Linked DNA regions of Homo sapiens: regions 1, 2, 3 and 5 are each linked to region 4. The links are contacts of gene promoters, found by promoter capture Hi-C in blood cells and fetal thymus (Javierre and others, 2016). All regions are on one chromosome and are shown on one strand. Each heading gives the region's core, a stretch centred on a gene start or on the middle of the fragment in contact. The rest is flanking DNA. Distances are from core to core; before and after follow the strand shown.

Evidence for each region. The method cuts DNA at HindIII sites, captures the fragments that hold promoters and counts their contacts. A CHiCAGO score of 5 or more calls a contact.
Region 1: a contact is called between a fragment that was not itself captured here and the fragment with the promoter of MCPH1 in region 4, in 3 of 17 cell types (fetal thymus, total B cells and naive B cells). The highest score is 12.1, in fetal thymus.
Region 2: a contact is called between a fragment that was not itself captured here and the fragment with the promoter of MCPH1 in region 4, in 3 of 17 cell types (total B cells, naive B cells and fetal thymus). The highest score is 12.1, in total B cells.
Region 3: a contact is called between a fragment that was not itself captured here and the fragment with the promoter of MCPH1 in region 4, in 4 of 17 cell types (naive B cells, total B cells, fetal thymus and 1 more). The highest score is 15.2, in naive B cells.
Region 5: a fragment that was not itself captured here is called in contact with the fragment with the promoter of MCPH1 in region 4 in 2 of 17 cell types (total B cells and fetal thymus); the score reaches 7.1 in total B cells.

What each region holds. Positions count from the first base shown.
Region 1 is chr8:6,938,413-6,941,112 of GRCh38, forward strand. No RefSeq gene overlaps it. Among named protein-coding and RNA genes, the nearest start is that of DEFA4, 1.5 kb to the left of the region's middle. The HindIII fragment of the contact is 1,307 bases long and covers 750-2,056 here.
Region 2 is chr8:6,917,269-6,919,968 of GRCh38, forward strand. No RefSeq gene overlaps it. Among named protein-coding and RNA genes, the nearest start is that of DEFA6, 7.5 kb to the right of the region's middle. The HindIII fragment of the contact is 7,598 bases long and covers 1-2,700 here.
Region 3 is chr8:7,038,178-7,040,877 of GRCh38, forward strand. It overlaps the pseudogene DEFA7P. Among named protein-coding and RNA genes, the nearest start is that of DEFA5, 17 kb to the right of the region's middle. The HindIII fragment of the contact is 1,257 bases long and covers 818-2,074 here.
Region 4 is chr8:6,405,177-6,407,876 of GRCh38, forward strand. It overlaps MCPH1 (microcephalin 1), which reads left to right and starts at 1,451. Exons shown (of 14, transcript NM_024596.5): 1 at 1,451-1,513. The coding sequence starts at 1,492. MCPH1-DT (MCPH1 divergent transcript) reads right to left here and starts at 1,372. Exons shown (of 2, transcript NR_040040.1): 1 at 530-1,372. RefSeq lists silencers at 1,193-1,272, 1,533-1,712. The HindIII fragment of the contact is 9,682 bases long and covers 1-2,700 here.
Region 5 is chr8:6,955,488-6,958,187 of GRCh38, forward strand. No RefSeq gene overlaps it. Among named protein-coding and RNA genes, the nearest start is that of DEFA4, 19 kb to the left of the region's middle. The HindIII fragment of the contact is 4,236 bases long and covers 1-2,700 here.

The DNA.
Region 1 (2,700 bases), core at 153-2,652, 530 kb after region 4:
CAGTTGAGAAATTTGGCAGAAAGCTGGAGTTCAAGCAGGAGTCCACGGAGGTACCGACCCCTCGTCTACTTTGGTCAGCCCTGGCCAGGCCCAGGCAGCAATCAACTATGGATTCCTCATGACTCCTAAGACAATTGACCCCATGATACCTATGCTGGTGGCTGAGGCTGAACTACCTGGACCGAGGGAATATTTAAAGCCACCAGGAGAGCCTGGCCTGCATATTGTTGTATACACCTTGCGAGGAGACTAGGATCAAAATGCCACCCACACACAGATGAGGATTTGGAATGTGGTCTGAACTGACCTCCCCAGGCCCTGGGGTCTAACCATAAAAACAAATCCAAGCCATTCAGACAAGTAAGGTTGGAGAATACCTGGATGAGACTGAATACCGCCTGGGCTTGTGTTGCTGGATAGGGCAGGTTGCAGGCTCCCGAGTAAAGGATGTGCATATAGCATGTGGTTCCCTAGAGGGGACAGTCACCTTTTTGCTTGGCCTTAGATAGTTCAAGCCTAAATGACTGTCTAGGTCATCCAGGCCAAGGACTCATCAAATGATTGCGTGACACCTAATGTCTGTCAGAAGTCCCTTAGGATGGTGGCCAAAGCTGCAGCGAGATTGGTGTTAGCTTGCATCACCTTGTGTTGTGAGCTCAAATACCCTGTTCCCAAACCAATCCCGTAGGCTTACGAGTCTCCCTACACCCAGAGTTAGGAAGATGGTCACTGGGTGGGGGGGATGCATAAGCTTTCCCTTGTGTGGTCCCTCCTGGGTTATTTGAAGGGGAGTCCCAGGGAGACTAGTGCACATTTTAAAATGTACCACTCTCCACCATCCTCCTCCTTGTAGTGAGGTAAACGGGATGAGGTTTCTGGAAATGAGAAAAGAATGCAGTTGTTCCTGAGGGAATGAATACCTATAGTGAGGTTGCTGAACCCAGTATGCAGTCCAGGCAGCCCCTGCCGCCATGGGAGGGCCGTGCACAGCGCTGGTCCAGCAGGCTGGGTGCTCAGGGCCTCCCCTGCAGCTCTGCGTGAAGGCAGCAGGCACTGGGCTATGGAGGACTGGGGGCAGCGGCGCTCTCAGTCTTAAGGAGGGAAGAGGCATCTCAAGCCTCGCTAGGGGTGGTCGCTGTTCCAGAGCAGTGAAGTCGGCTGCCCCTATGAGGAAGCAGTGAGTTCCTGATCTGTTGCAGGCCCAGCAATTTCACCTTTGGAGGAAGTGGGCACTGGACTCATTCCAGCAGAGGAAGAAATTAGGGCTATTTGGGGAACTGGGCCCCAGATGATGGTTTTAGGTTCTAGGGCATTAGTAGGTGCCTGAAGGGCCCAGTGGATATGGATGTAGAGGCAAAATGAGAAGGGGTGTGTGTGCACGTGGGGAAGGTCTGGTGGTTGTGGGGATGTCCAGTGTCCTGCAGAAGTGAAACCTGGACCAGCCTCCTGCACACAGAACACACTCCAATCCATAGGCATTTTCCTAGTAACATAGGAGAGAGCTGTTATTGGCAGAGCTGGTTAGATTTGGGTGTGATATTATAACAGACAGGTCTTCCAAGTCCATATTTTTTGGCATAACTTGTAGGGCAGCCTCCTGATCTGATCCAAGCCTTGTGGTTTCCTTGCAGTAGGCGGTTTAACTAATGGGTTACACTGAAGACAAATGGGGATCCCAGCAAAATACCATTCTAAGGGGTCATCTGCAGGGTCCTCAGGAAAGCATGAGCTAAGAAAGCACGGGTCCAGGTACTGGACGTGAGCCAACTCCATGTCCCGGGGGTGGTGAGATCCATACCTTGCGGCAGGAAGGAGAGTAAGGTGAGTCTGGTTTGGGGATGACCCCACAGTCAAGATGAGATTCCTTGGTGTCTCTGGTTCTGGTGAGGCCACTGTTTCCCAGGACAAACCCTTGGATCAGAGCACTGTCTTCTGAGGTGATGGCCTTTCGGGTAGGGGTGGCCTTTCCAGCTGGTCACTCAAGAAGAGAGAGGGTATGGGCTGGTGTTGCACAGGCCTCTGGCCTCTGTGGGACTCCATGGAAGCGTTTAGTGAAAGCTTGAGTGGTGCTTTCCTTGGTCGGGGGATAGGACATTTCCATCCACAACTCACATACTTTGGAGCACAGAAGTATCCCTAAGCCCATGAACGTGTTTGAATGCTTTCTCTGCATGTGAGGCTCCAACCTTTCCGGCCACAGACTGAGTTTGTGCTGAGGCATCATTAGCTGGTTTGTATTCATGCCTGGTCATGGGGAGGGCCACCTGCCTCTGATTGTGGGGGTTGCTGGTGTTTAAGCTTTAGTGCCATGGGTCCCATTCAATATCTAAGGATCGGGTTTCCTGGCTTGGATCCAGGTCAGGTGGCATTTGGGGTTTTGCCCCTCTAGCACATTGCCTCAACATGCCACAGTTTTCCAGCCTGGGGTTCAATTTCTCACAGTGGCTGTCCTGTTCCAGCAGCTCTCTGGGATGCCAGGCCCCAGGCCTAAGAGCAGCCGTACAACATTTACATACATAAGATACCCAGCAAGGCCAAAGATAGAGAGCACTGACAGCTTATAACTCAGGGATTTCCTCAAGGTACTTTTACGTCGATATTGATTATGGGGTGGGCTTTCACCAACATTTCTTCAGAGCATTTTTCTGCAATCGACACAGGACATGGTGATGGTAGTTCCATGTGGTCTTTGTCTGATGT
Region 2 (2,700 bases), core at 160-2,659, 510 kb after region 4:
CGAGACCAAACTGGCCAACATGGTGAAACCTCGTCTCTACTAAAATTACAAAAAATTATCCGGGCATGGTGGCACATGCCTGTAGTCCTAGCTACTCAGAAGGCTGGAGCAGGAGAATTGCTTGAACCTGGGAGGCGGAGGTTGCAGTGAGCTGAGGTCGTGCCATTGTTCTCCAGCCTGGGCAAGACAGCGAGACTCCCTCTCAAAAAAAATAATTTTATTTGAATTATCTTTCTGTGAAAGAAATAGGTTCTGGCTCCCGCACTTCCTGTGCACTGATCTTATTTGATGGAACAAAATTTGAATGTGCTACCTATATCATAGGCTGTTCAGGGATACCAAGAAAGATAGATAAATAGACAGATAGATTACGAATATAGATAGATAGACATAGAGCTAGAGATAGAGATATCTTCCACCTATCTGCTCACTATGCCAGGGTATCCTTGAAGCATTTGTTAACTCGACACAGCCACAGCATAGAAGAAACTTGGGTCTTGAATGACTGCATGGAGCAGAGTCTGCTCTTGCATAGGAGCCCCAATACCCTGTATTCTGGACCCTGCTGCATCCACTCGGGCTGAAGAATTCAAGAAAAAGCCACCTATCTGTTATAGCCCTTCCCTCCAGAGAGATCAGTGTATTAGTAATCGCCTTATTTATTTTGACTTTGATAGTATTTTTTGTTATAAAACAACTCTTGATGTTATTAATGTGAGATAGTCCGAAGATTGTTTCTTCTCACTGTATAATGAAAGCAACTGGGGCAGAAATAACCAAAATCAAAAAGTGCATTAAAAACAGATGGCTGCAGGTGTCCTATTATCTTTCATTTGTGTTAATTAAATTTAGTGTTGGCAGATAATATAAAGAGATACTCAGTTCAATCTGACTTTTGGAGAAATTACAATTTTTATTAGTACAGTTATTTCCAAATATTGCAAATATGAGAACAAATAACCCCCAACTCATAGTGATTCAATGCAATAGAGGTTTATTTATGACTCATGGAATAGGCTGCAGGATGGGGGGCATTGGGGCACTCATGTGGGGGCAGCCTTTGCTCCTTGCAGTCATTCAAGACCCAGGTTTCTTGTATGCTGTGGCTCTTTTAAGTTCAATAAATGCTTTGAGAATACCCTGGCATAGTGAGCAAACAGGAGGAGGATATCTGTATCTCTATCTCTGTCTCTATCAGACCTGTATCTAAAATCTCTGTCTCTCTCTCTCTCTCACTCTCTCTATCTTTGTATCACTGAACAGCCTATGACATAGGTAGTACATTGAAATTTTGTTTCGTCGAATAAGATTGATGCACAGGAAATCCAGGAACCAGAATCTATTACTTTTATTGAAACATAATTGAAATGAAACCACTACTTGTTGAAACTGGCTGCTGATGAGGGGTTAAAGATGAAATCTAAAAATACAGTGTCATTTTATTTTGTATAAAAGTTAAAGAATATTCTGAGTTTGCTGTAGGTTTTTACTTCTTCTTTTATTTCTGCAGATAACTCTGAGGTTATTTTGTTTCGATGTGTTGTTGAAACAAAGCATAGAAATTATTCAGATACATAGTATTTCCTGCCAGTAGCTTTGTCATCAATCTGACTGAGACACATCACCAAGGAAAAGCAAACTTTAAATATGAAATAGGCAGTCTTCATTCAAAATATTTATAGGCATTTAATATGGATAACCACTGTTTCACGTATAACTTTTGCTTAATTATAATTGAGAAAGAACAGTAAGTTACGAAGAGGACGGTGATTCTCTCTGTTTCATGCCTCCCAGCACACTAGCATTAAACAACAGGCACAGAGATTTTTTTTTCTCTGTACCATGTTTTGTTCTGGTTATATTTATTGGCATGTAATTTTGTGTTTATGGAAACAAATAATAAAAATAGAACTAATTATATATATGCCTTAAAAAATGTACAGCTTGGCACAAGAAAAAATGGAAAGAAAGAGAAAAGGGTCTTTCACTAGAGAATATTTGGGAGGGAAGATGGAGTGGGTGCTGCCAGGTGGATGTGTGGCGGAACCTTTTTGCCAGCTTGTTTCCCTTGGGCCTTGGGCCACTTTGTTTTCTCTGAAAGTGCTTTCTCTTTAGCAGGGACTTTGGTAGCATGAGCGGAACCCCTAGGTGTTCATGGAAACCTGGCTGTCCAGGGGCTTGGGGACACCATGGGACACGCTGCCACCCTCTAGTGGTAGAATAGAGACGCACTTCACCACCAGGGGGTCTCCTCTCTGTCATTGTTTTCCAGCCTCAAAAAGTCACATCCTAGCCCTGCGCTCATGGTGGCTCAGGCCTGTAATCTCAGCACTTTGGGAGGCCGAGGCGGTTGGATCACTTGAGGTCAGGAGTTTGAGACCAGCCTGAACAATGTGGTGAAACCCCATCTCTATTAAAAACAGAAAAACTAGCCAGGCGTGGTGGCAGGCACCTGTAATCCCAGCTACTCCAGAGGCTGAGGCAGGAGAATTGCTTGAACCTGGGAGACGGAGATTGCAGTGAACTGAGATCACGCCACTGTACTGCAGCCTTGGCAATGGAGTGAGATGCTGTCTCAAAAAACAAACAAACAAACAACAACAACAAAACCTCACATCTTTTTTGGATAACATGAAAACCCTATACTTAAACCCCCTTCCCTGACCCAGAGATTCTTAGCGGTGTCTGTTTGAGAATCAC
Region 3 (2,700 bases), core at 196-2,695, 630 kb after region 4:
AATCCCAGCACTTTGGGAGGCTAAGGCGGGTCAGTCACGAGTTCGGGAGATCAAGACCATCCTGGCCAACATGGTGAAACACCGTCTCTACTAAAAATACAAAAATTAGCCAGGCGTGGTGGTGGGCGCCTGTAGTCCCAGCTACTCAGGAGGCTGAGACAGGAGAATTGCTTGAATCTGGGAGGCAGAGCTTGCAATGAGCTGAGATCCCACCACTGCACTCCAGCCTGGGTGACAGAGGGAGACTCCGCCTCAAAAAAAAAAAAACCCGGAAATCATGTTACCAAGTATTTATTTGGGATGAGGACAGGAAATCGAGGACAAGGTATAAGAATAACAATTCCCTTTAATGCTCAAAGAAAATTATGAACTCTTTTTCTCTAGTCTGCAAGCTTAGTAGCAGCAGATTGGGTAGCGTTCACCAAGGATGAAGCAGGTCCCACCAAGATGTTCTCCAAAAATGCAGTATAGTACTCTGCAATGGCAGATCAAGCCCTTTGTTGAGCCTGGGGACCCAGAGAGAGCATCAGAAACTGAGTACGGGGTCAGCAGTGGGTGGTAAAGGGAATCTTGGAGAAGTCACATGTTGGCTGATGAGTGATGTTGGCTGTATTACAGCCGGTAGCACAAACAATCTCAGTCAATAGGAATAAATACACAGAGCAGTGCTGGTCACACAGGATTCGAGACTCATTCTCCTTTGCTTCACTTTTGTGCATTCGTGCCCATCACACACACACCTGAACACATTCTTAGGCTCCTCTCCAGGTTCTAAAACCTCCTATATAGACAGGGTGAAATATTTTCTATATACTTAAGCTTGTTTGTCTGGCTCCAGAAGGAACTAGGTAGCATCTCCTTATATCTTAAATCTAGTGAATTTCACAGTCATATCTTGGAATCAAGTTTTTGGAGAAAGAAAAATCTCTTAGATTTCTTTGGTTCTCTATTCCATTTAGATATGAGAAAATCCAGGACCAGAGATGTTAAGTATAGCCACCTAAGTGACATCTGCCACTGAGATCCAATTCCAGAGCCTGTCTCCTGTCCTTCTGTCTAGTCTGTAGCTCTGCATGCTGGCATCTCTCACCTGGAACCTGAAGAGAGCAGCTGTCATCTCCTGAAAAGTAAAGGACCACATCCTGGTCATCTGCTGGAGGCTGCTTCTGGGCTGGCATCTCATGAGCTCTTGCCGGGAGCGGCTCTGCCCAGGCCTGAAGGGCCACCAGGAGAAAGGCAGAGAGGAGGGTGAGGGTCCTCCTAACTGTAGTCACCTGGAGGAGAGGAGGGAGAGCAGGAGTGGATGTGTGGGAACGGAGGAGCCAGGCTGAATTTATAGCTCTGCTGCGAGAAGGCTCAGAGATGGATGCTGCAGTGAGAGGAGGTAGGCATTTCGTTGGAGAGGTTGCAGGTGTCCATTGGCCTCCACATCCTTCTGAGACTCCTCTGCTCTCCCAGCTTTCATTCTAGTGTGAATCTCTAGGTTTAGTGTCTATGCTAGCTTGGAATTCACGGTGATGATAAGGACCCTACCATTATTTCTGTTTTTACCTGTTTAAATATTTACTTTTAATATTGCAAAAAGTAATCGAAACAGTGATTTAATTCAGTAATTTCAGGGAATAAATCCTGCTTATTTTCTGAAAATGAGAGCTCTTCTCTTCAGAGATCCAGACCCTCATAACAGACCTGAATTCCACTGTAGTAGAGAACTAATTCATTGCAGGATTCAAGGGCATTATCACCCTCATGAAGGGGTTTTTGAGGTTAGGGGATGAGCAGTCTCCTATAGGAGCTGGGGTAGAGAGGACAGCAACCTCATCAGGCTATAGGTGAAACAAGTTCAGTGAGATAGAGATAGAGTTGATTGAAAGATAAAAATATGTTTATTATTTTCAGCTCAATGTGTGTAAATAGACACATTGTATGTGTCTAATATATACTACCTTAGAATTTGAGATATGTATACATGTGGTCTTTTTTCTTATACCACATACAAAAATCAACTCAATGGATTGAAGACCTAAACATAAGATCTGAAACCATAAACTACTAGAAGAATATATAGGGATAAAGCTTTTTGACATTAATCTGGGCAATTATTTCTTGGCTATGACATCAAAGGGACAGGCAATAAAATGGAAAATAGACAAGCGGGGCTGCGTTGAACACTAAAGCACCTGCACAGCAAAGGAAACCACCAACTGAGTGAAAAGGCAACACAGAACATGAGAGAAAATATTTGCAAACCCTACGTGTTAGAATGGGTAAATATCCGAATATACAAGGAAGTCAAACAATTCAATAGCAAAAAACAATTAATCTGATTAATCAGTGGGCCAGTGAGCCCCCATGATGGCTCACACAGGCAATCTCAGCGCTTTCAAAGGCCAAAGTAGGAAGATCGCTTGAGCCCAGGAGTTGGAGACCAGCTTGAGCAACACAGTGAGACTCCATCTCTGCAAAATAAATAAATAATAAATGAAAACTCCATGGGCCAAGAACATGAATAGACTTTTCTCAAAATAAAATAATGTTTTAGCAGCTATGAGTATGATCATCTCTGTTGGACACGTTAAGTAGGACATGTGTGTTTGGAAGGAAACTGCTTGAGTTTATTAACTGAGCTCATAGCCACTGCCCCCAGCAACCAACAGTCCCAGATGGCAAAATATTCCCTCACTGGTTCCCTCTGAGGTG
Region 4 (2,700 bases), core at 201-2,700:
TAATATTTCTAGAAGAAATCCTAGGAGAAAATATTTGTGATCGTGGAGATGAAGAATCTATCAAATACTAAACTTTTTTTACCACCTTGACCAAAAGTAATTGGTTTATATACTTCATCATATCATTTAATTCAAAATCTACAGAGATCAATGTCACTTTCTCAGTAAAAGTACGTGAGTCTTCAATGATGCCCTGAACTCACACTCCCAAGTAAACCATAACACCATATTTCCAGAGTAGAGTTTATTAGAACAATAACTGGTGATAATGATAAATATTGATCAAAGACTGAGCCTAGGAAGTGGGTTTTTTGAGGCTGCATATACTCAAGGCAATTCTTCAGAACCACAGAGGGCTCATTGGATCCTATTAAAAGCTGAGAGTGAATGAATAAACAGATAAAACAGAGACCTGAGTAGACGGTAGTCGATATTCTTTTACATGTATTCTACCTCTAGATTCCATAGAAAGAACTAAAAGTACATGAATTTCACTACCAACATCTCCATCAGTTACCAGCTGTATCACCTTGGATCAGTCAGGTAACCTCCCGCGAATCTGGTTGCTTCCGGGGCAGGGGATCCGCGGGCTGCAGGTTTGAGCCTGGTTGCCGGCAGGGTGGAGCAGCTGGAGGGCCAAGCCTTTGAGCTCCAGGGGGGGTGGCCGGGACAGTGGGTAGTGCCAGCCGATCGGCGTCCTGGGGATTGCCTGAATGTGAGGTCTGGGTTCACCCCGCGGTGACCTGAGTCCTGGGATGCCCCTACAGGGATTTGCTGCCTCAGGGATCCGAAGTCTCTTTCATTCCCTTACTGGGGATTTGAGGTCTGGAGGTACTCCTGCGGGGGTCTGAGATCTCGGGGTCACCCTGTGGGGGTCTGAAGCCTCGGGGTCCCCGCGTGGGGTCTGAGGTATCAGAGTCCCCTCCGTTGGGTCTGAGGTCTCGGGGTCCCCCATCCCCGGGATCGGAGGTCCGGCTCCCCGGAGCAGGCAGGGCGGTGCGTCTGGCCCTGAACAGTAACGTGGCGCGCCAGCCCCAGGTGGTGTCGGGCTAGGGGGGCATAACGGTGCCGAAAGTCCGCACAAAGCCGTCCGCTGGGGTCCCGCCGCGTCCGCGAGGGAATGACTGTGCCCCCTCCCCTTCCTGATCCTCAGCTCAGGTGAGCCCAGATGAGGCGCCGGGTAGCTTCTAAGTCACTAATGGAAATAGAAGGCTAATTCAGGGGTTAGGGGCCGTCGTCCTCCTTACTCCCAGGAGAAGAGAAAAACCCACGGCCCAGCAGCCAGAGGCGCGGCGAGGCGGAATCGGGCCCCCTCCCCGGGGGCTCAGCTCCCTCCAGCCTCCCGCCTCACCTACAGAGAAATCCCGGAAACGCGGATTCAGCGGAGCGCGGTGACGGCGGCGCGCTCACCCCGCGCATGCCCAGTGCCCGCGCGCGCCGCCAGGCTCGCAAGCACCGCGTAGGCCAGCTGGCCGGATCCCGCCGTCTGTCATGGCGGCCCCCATCCTGAAAGGTGAGGTACTTCCTGCTGCCTGCTCCAGCAGCGGGAGTTTGAGGACCGGCACCCCTCGTCGCGGGCGCACTCGGGGGATCCCGTGGGAGGAGCCCCGCTCGCCCCTCCCTCGCTGCCTGTCTCCCCCAGACCCCCTGCCGCCTCCTTCCTCCCCCGCTGCCTGTCCCACCAAAACCCCCTGCTCCTGCTCTCTCCCCCGCTGCCTGTCCCCCCAAAACCCCCGGCTGCCTGCTTCGTCTCCCGTGCTCCCTGTCCCCCCAAACCCCCGACTGCCTGCTTCCTCCCCCGTACTGCTTGTGCCCCAACCCCCGTGCTGCTAGTTCCCCTCAATCCCCCGCTGCCTGCTCCCTCCCCCATGCTGCCTGTCCCCCAAATCCCGCCTTTCCCCCTACCTGCTTTCACCCCTGCTGCCTTAGTCCCTGGATCTGGGGCTCACTGGCAGGCAGAGTCCTGCCCTCCGGAAGTTGGTGTGGGGCCCTCCTGGGTCTGGTCCTGTTCGACCCCCTCTGAGGCCCACCTGGAGGAGCGGCAGTTGAGTTTCTATGCTAATTGTTCCAATAATAGGAGCCGCCTTTTACTGCGGAGTCTTTGTGTGCCAGGCGCTGTGCTTAGGCTAGTATGGTATTGTCTGATTTTTTTAACCGCTCTATCAACTCTCTTATATCATTTTACAGGCAGAAACTAAGGCATCGGACGTTTAGGTGACTCTCCCTGTGTGTGGCTAGTCAGTGCTGACAGGGCCTTAGACCGGAGCTGCTGTCCTAACCAGTATATGATACCGCACGCAGTCCCACCCTCTGTGCACCTGGAAGAGCCCAGGAGAGGGGAATAGCGGACACGTGTCTTGTAGAGTTTGACCGTGAGAAAAAAGGGGCCTGTATTGTGGGGCCTGGAGTCATAAAACCTCATAGCCAAAAGTAAAGACTAGAGGCTTTATACAAAGTCTGTAATCAGATGTGGCTATTTTTCTAATGTTAGTATTTTGTTAAATTAACCTGGTTTTCTTTTAGCGTTACCCCCAATCATTGACCAACGGCACACCTGGAAAATGCTTTTAAACATCAGGTTTTGAGAAGAGGATATCCACTAGAACAGGGGTCCACTCACTATGCCCCCCAGGCCATATCTAGCCTGCTGCCTGTTTTTGTAAGGGTCTACGAGCTAAGAATGTCTTTTACATTTTTAAG
Region 5 (2,700 bases), core at 30-2,529, 550 kb after region 4:
ATCGATTATGGTGTGAGCTTTCACCAATGTTTCTTCAGAGTCTTTCTCCACCATTGACACAGGCTACATTTGGGAATGATACTTCCATGTGATCATCAGCTAATGTAGTCTATGTCCACTAGTCTGAAGGCTTCTGTTTGTTTAGTGACTCATTCTGTGCCCTTTTTGGGTCTTGGAGCAATAATCCCTACTACCTCCAGGAAGGGGTGAGTGGGAGACATTAGCTAAATTTCAAAGTAGTAAGAACTGGAGCTTCTGCTGGAAGCTGCACGTCAAGATGGGAGGTGTGGTATAGCAGAATCACTGTGGCCCTGCTGGGTACCAGTGGGCCTGGGCTGCCAGTCCTTAGGGACTCACAGCTTACTATCCATCCACAATCTGTTTTCCAGTAAATGTATGATGTTGAGACAATGGACCTCTTATCACAGTATGAGGAGTTATCATTATTGGAGCAAATGTGAATGATGTTATCTGTAAGGGAAAATGAACCTTACTCTTCTGTGATTACCAAAGTGTTCACCATGGTGGGCCTGGCCTAATTATAATGAGGCACTGGTGGCCACAGGGTAGAGAGTTAAGAAAGTTAGGACTCTCAGAAGGGGCTTGGTCCCCTTGGGGTTTCATGCCACAACTTCAATAAGAATGACTTTAGGAGGCCACTGTGCTGCTTGGGGAGGCTGGTGGCTTGGGGGCAATGGGCCAAGTGAGAGTCCCCTAAACCCTCATGCTGTGATGCCCATTCCTATGTCACCACCACTGCCTTGAAGTGGGAGCCTAGGTCTTGATCAATGATATTGGGTGGTTTCCGAGAGGGAAATGTCACAGAGCAAATGTCACAGCAAGAGAGCACCTGCTACACCAAGGGTCTTGGGTTGGAAGAGTTGATGGAAGTGCAGGGTTGTGTGTCTGCTTCTGCACGCAAAGGTGCTGGCTGTGTGGTAGGGGCCCAGTGAAGTCAATGTGCTGAAAGGTTGATGGCCCAGGAACAAGGGAGTGCCGGCCACAGCCTGTGTTAACCACGGCACGGCATCTGCAGTTGAGCATCCCTTGCTTGGTTGGAGATCTGGTGAGAGGCACCAGTGGCCTAGGGTACCCTCTAAAGTGGCCACAGCCTCCAGTGTCTAAAGTTCGGGGGCGCCACTTTGGTTTGAGGGCCAGGATGCCATTCTCTCCACTGCAGATGCTGCTCTACACCTTCTTCTAATCTATTCACATTTTCAATATCTCATGTTTCACCATGAAATTAACCACTGAAAATTCACATTTTCAATATCTCATGTTTCACCATGAAATCCTTTATTGCCACTCTAAGACAAAATGATCTCTGTCTTTCTCCTGAAGTCCTAATGCTTCATGAAGCCACATTTTACCCAGGATATTGTTCTACATTTCAGACTTCAGTGTTTTTGATTTGTTTCTTAAAGGTTTGCTATCACAGGCACTAGACACATGGACTGCCTTACCTCAGTAGGTTTCAGTTTTTTCCTATATAGTTTAGTGATGATAATAGAATTCTATATAATTACATGATATTGGTTATAATTAATTTATCCATAATGAATTTGTTGATCCCCTACTATGTATTAGGCAGTTATCTACGCACTGTGGTATAACGATAAGCAAAACATGCTGCTCACCTTCTATTGTAGGGAGAGAAATGTTACAGATGGTAAGTGAAACGTACAGAAGGTGAGATAGTTACAATTCCACAGTTAGGAATAAAGAGAACAAGAGGGATGGAGGCCACTAGGGGAACTTGTTGCAATTTAAAATTGAGAAATCGAGAAAGACCTCAGTGACAAGGTGAAATTTTAGCTGAGACTTCAGGTCTGGGCAACCAGCTGGTGCCCTTCGGGGTGCAGTGCAGATGCCCCGAGATGGAGTCAGCTCGGCCCCCATGGCAGTTTGGAACAATATGGAAAGTAACTTATGATCGCATGATTTTGAATCAGTGGCAGTTCTTAGAAACTAAGGAAGGCTCCTGCACTTCAAACGGTGAATCCCAATATGTTTCCGTCACTGTCTCAACAAGAGGAAGAGCTCAGACCATTTCTCTGTCACACACAGACTTACTGTGTCTTCCCTGGGACCTGTATTGAGTTCCCCAGCTGTGCGGTGTCTCAGAGGGGTGCCTGGACTCCTGAGCTGCCTCTTCAGATAGGCAGAGCCTCAGTCTGGAGCCACGATCTGCTCAGAATCTGCATGGGGTGTGCGTAAAAACACCTGCATTCTTCTCCTGGGCTCTGGGCATTTGTCGTTAGTGTTGGTGGTCACGGCAGTGTCTGGGCCATGAGACGATTTAGTCAGAAATGGTGAATAACCCACTTGAGACACCTTCCTTTCTTTGAAGCCTGTAATTTTTCTATCCCAGTCAAACTCCTTAGGACCTCTTAACAGTGACCACCTGCTAAGAGTAGGCATGGTTTGAATATAGTTTTTTTTTTTTTTCCCAAACATGTGTTTTGAAATCACTGACTGCAACTACACGATCCAGAGTAAATATGAGGGGCTCACACTGGACTCCCCCTCTGGGCCGGGGGGTCATGTCCTGAAAGGACATCTGCAGGACCTATTGGACAAGGATTCTAGGGTCTGTGGGAATCAGGGGAGCGAAAGAGAGAACAGACAGGTGGAAGGGTCACGTCTCATCCCAGCAAGATGTCAGCCTGGCCTCAGGTACACCAGGGTTAGGCAGTGACC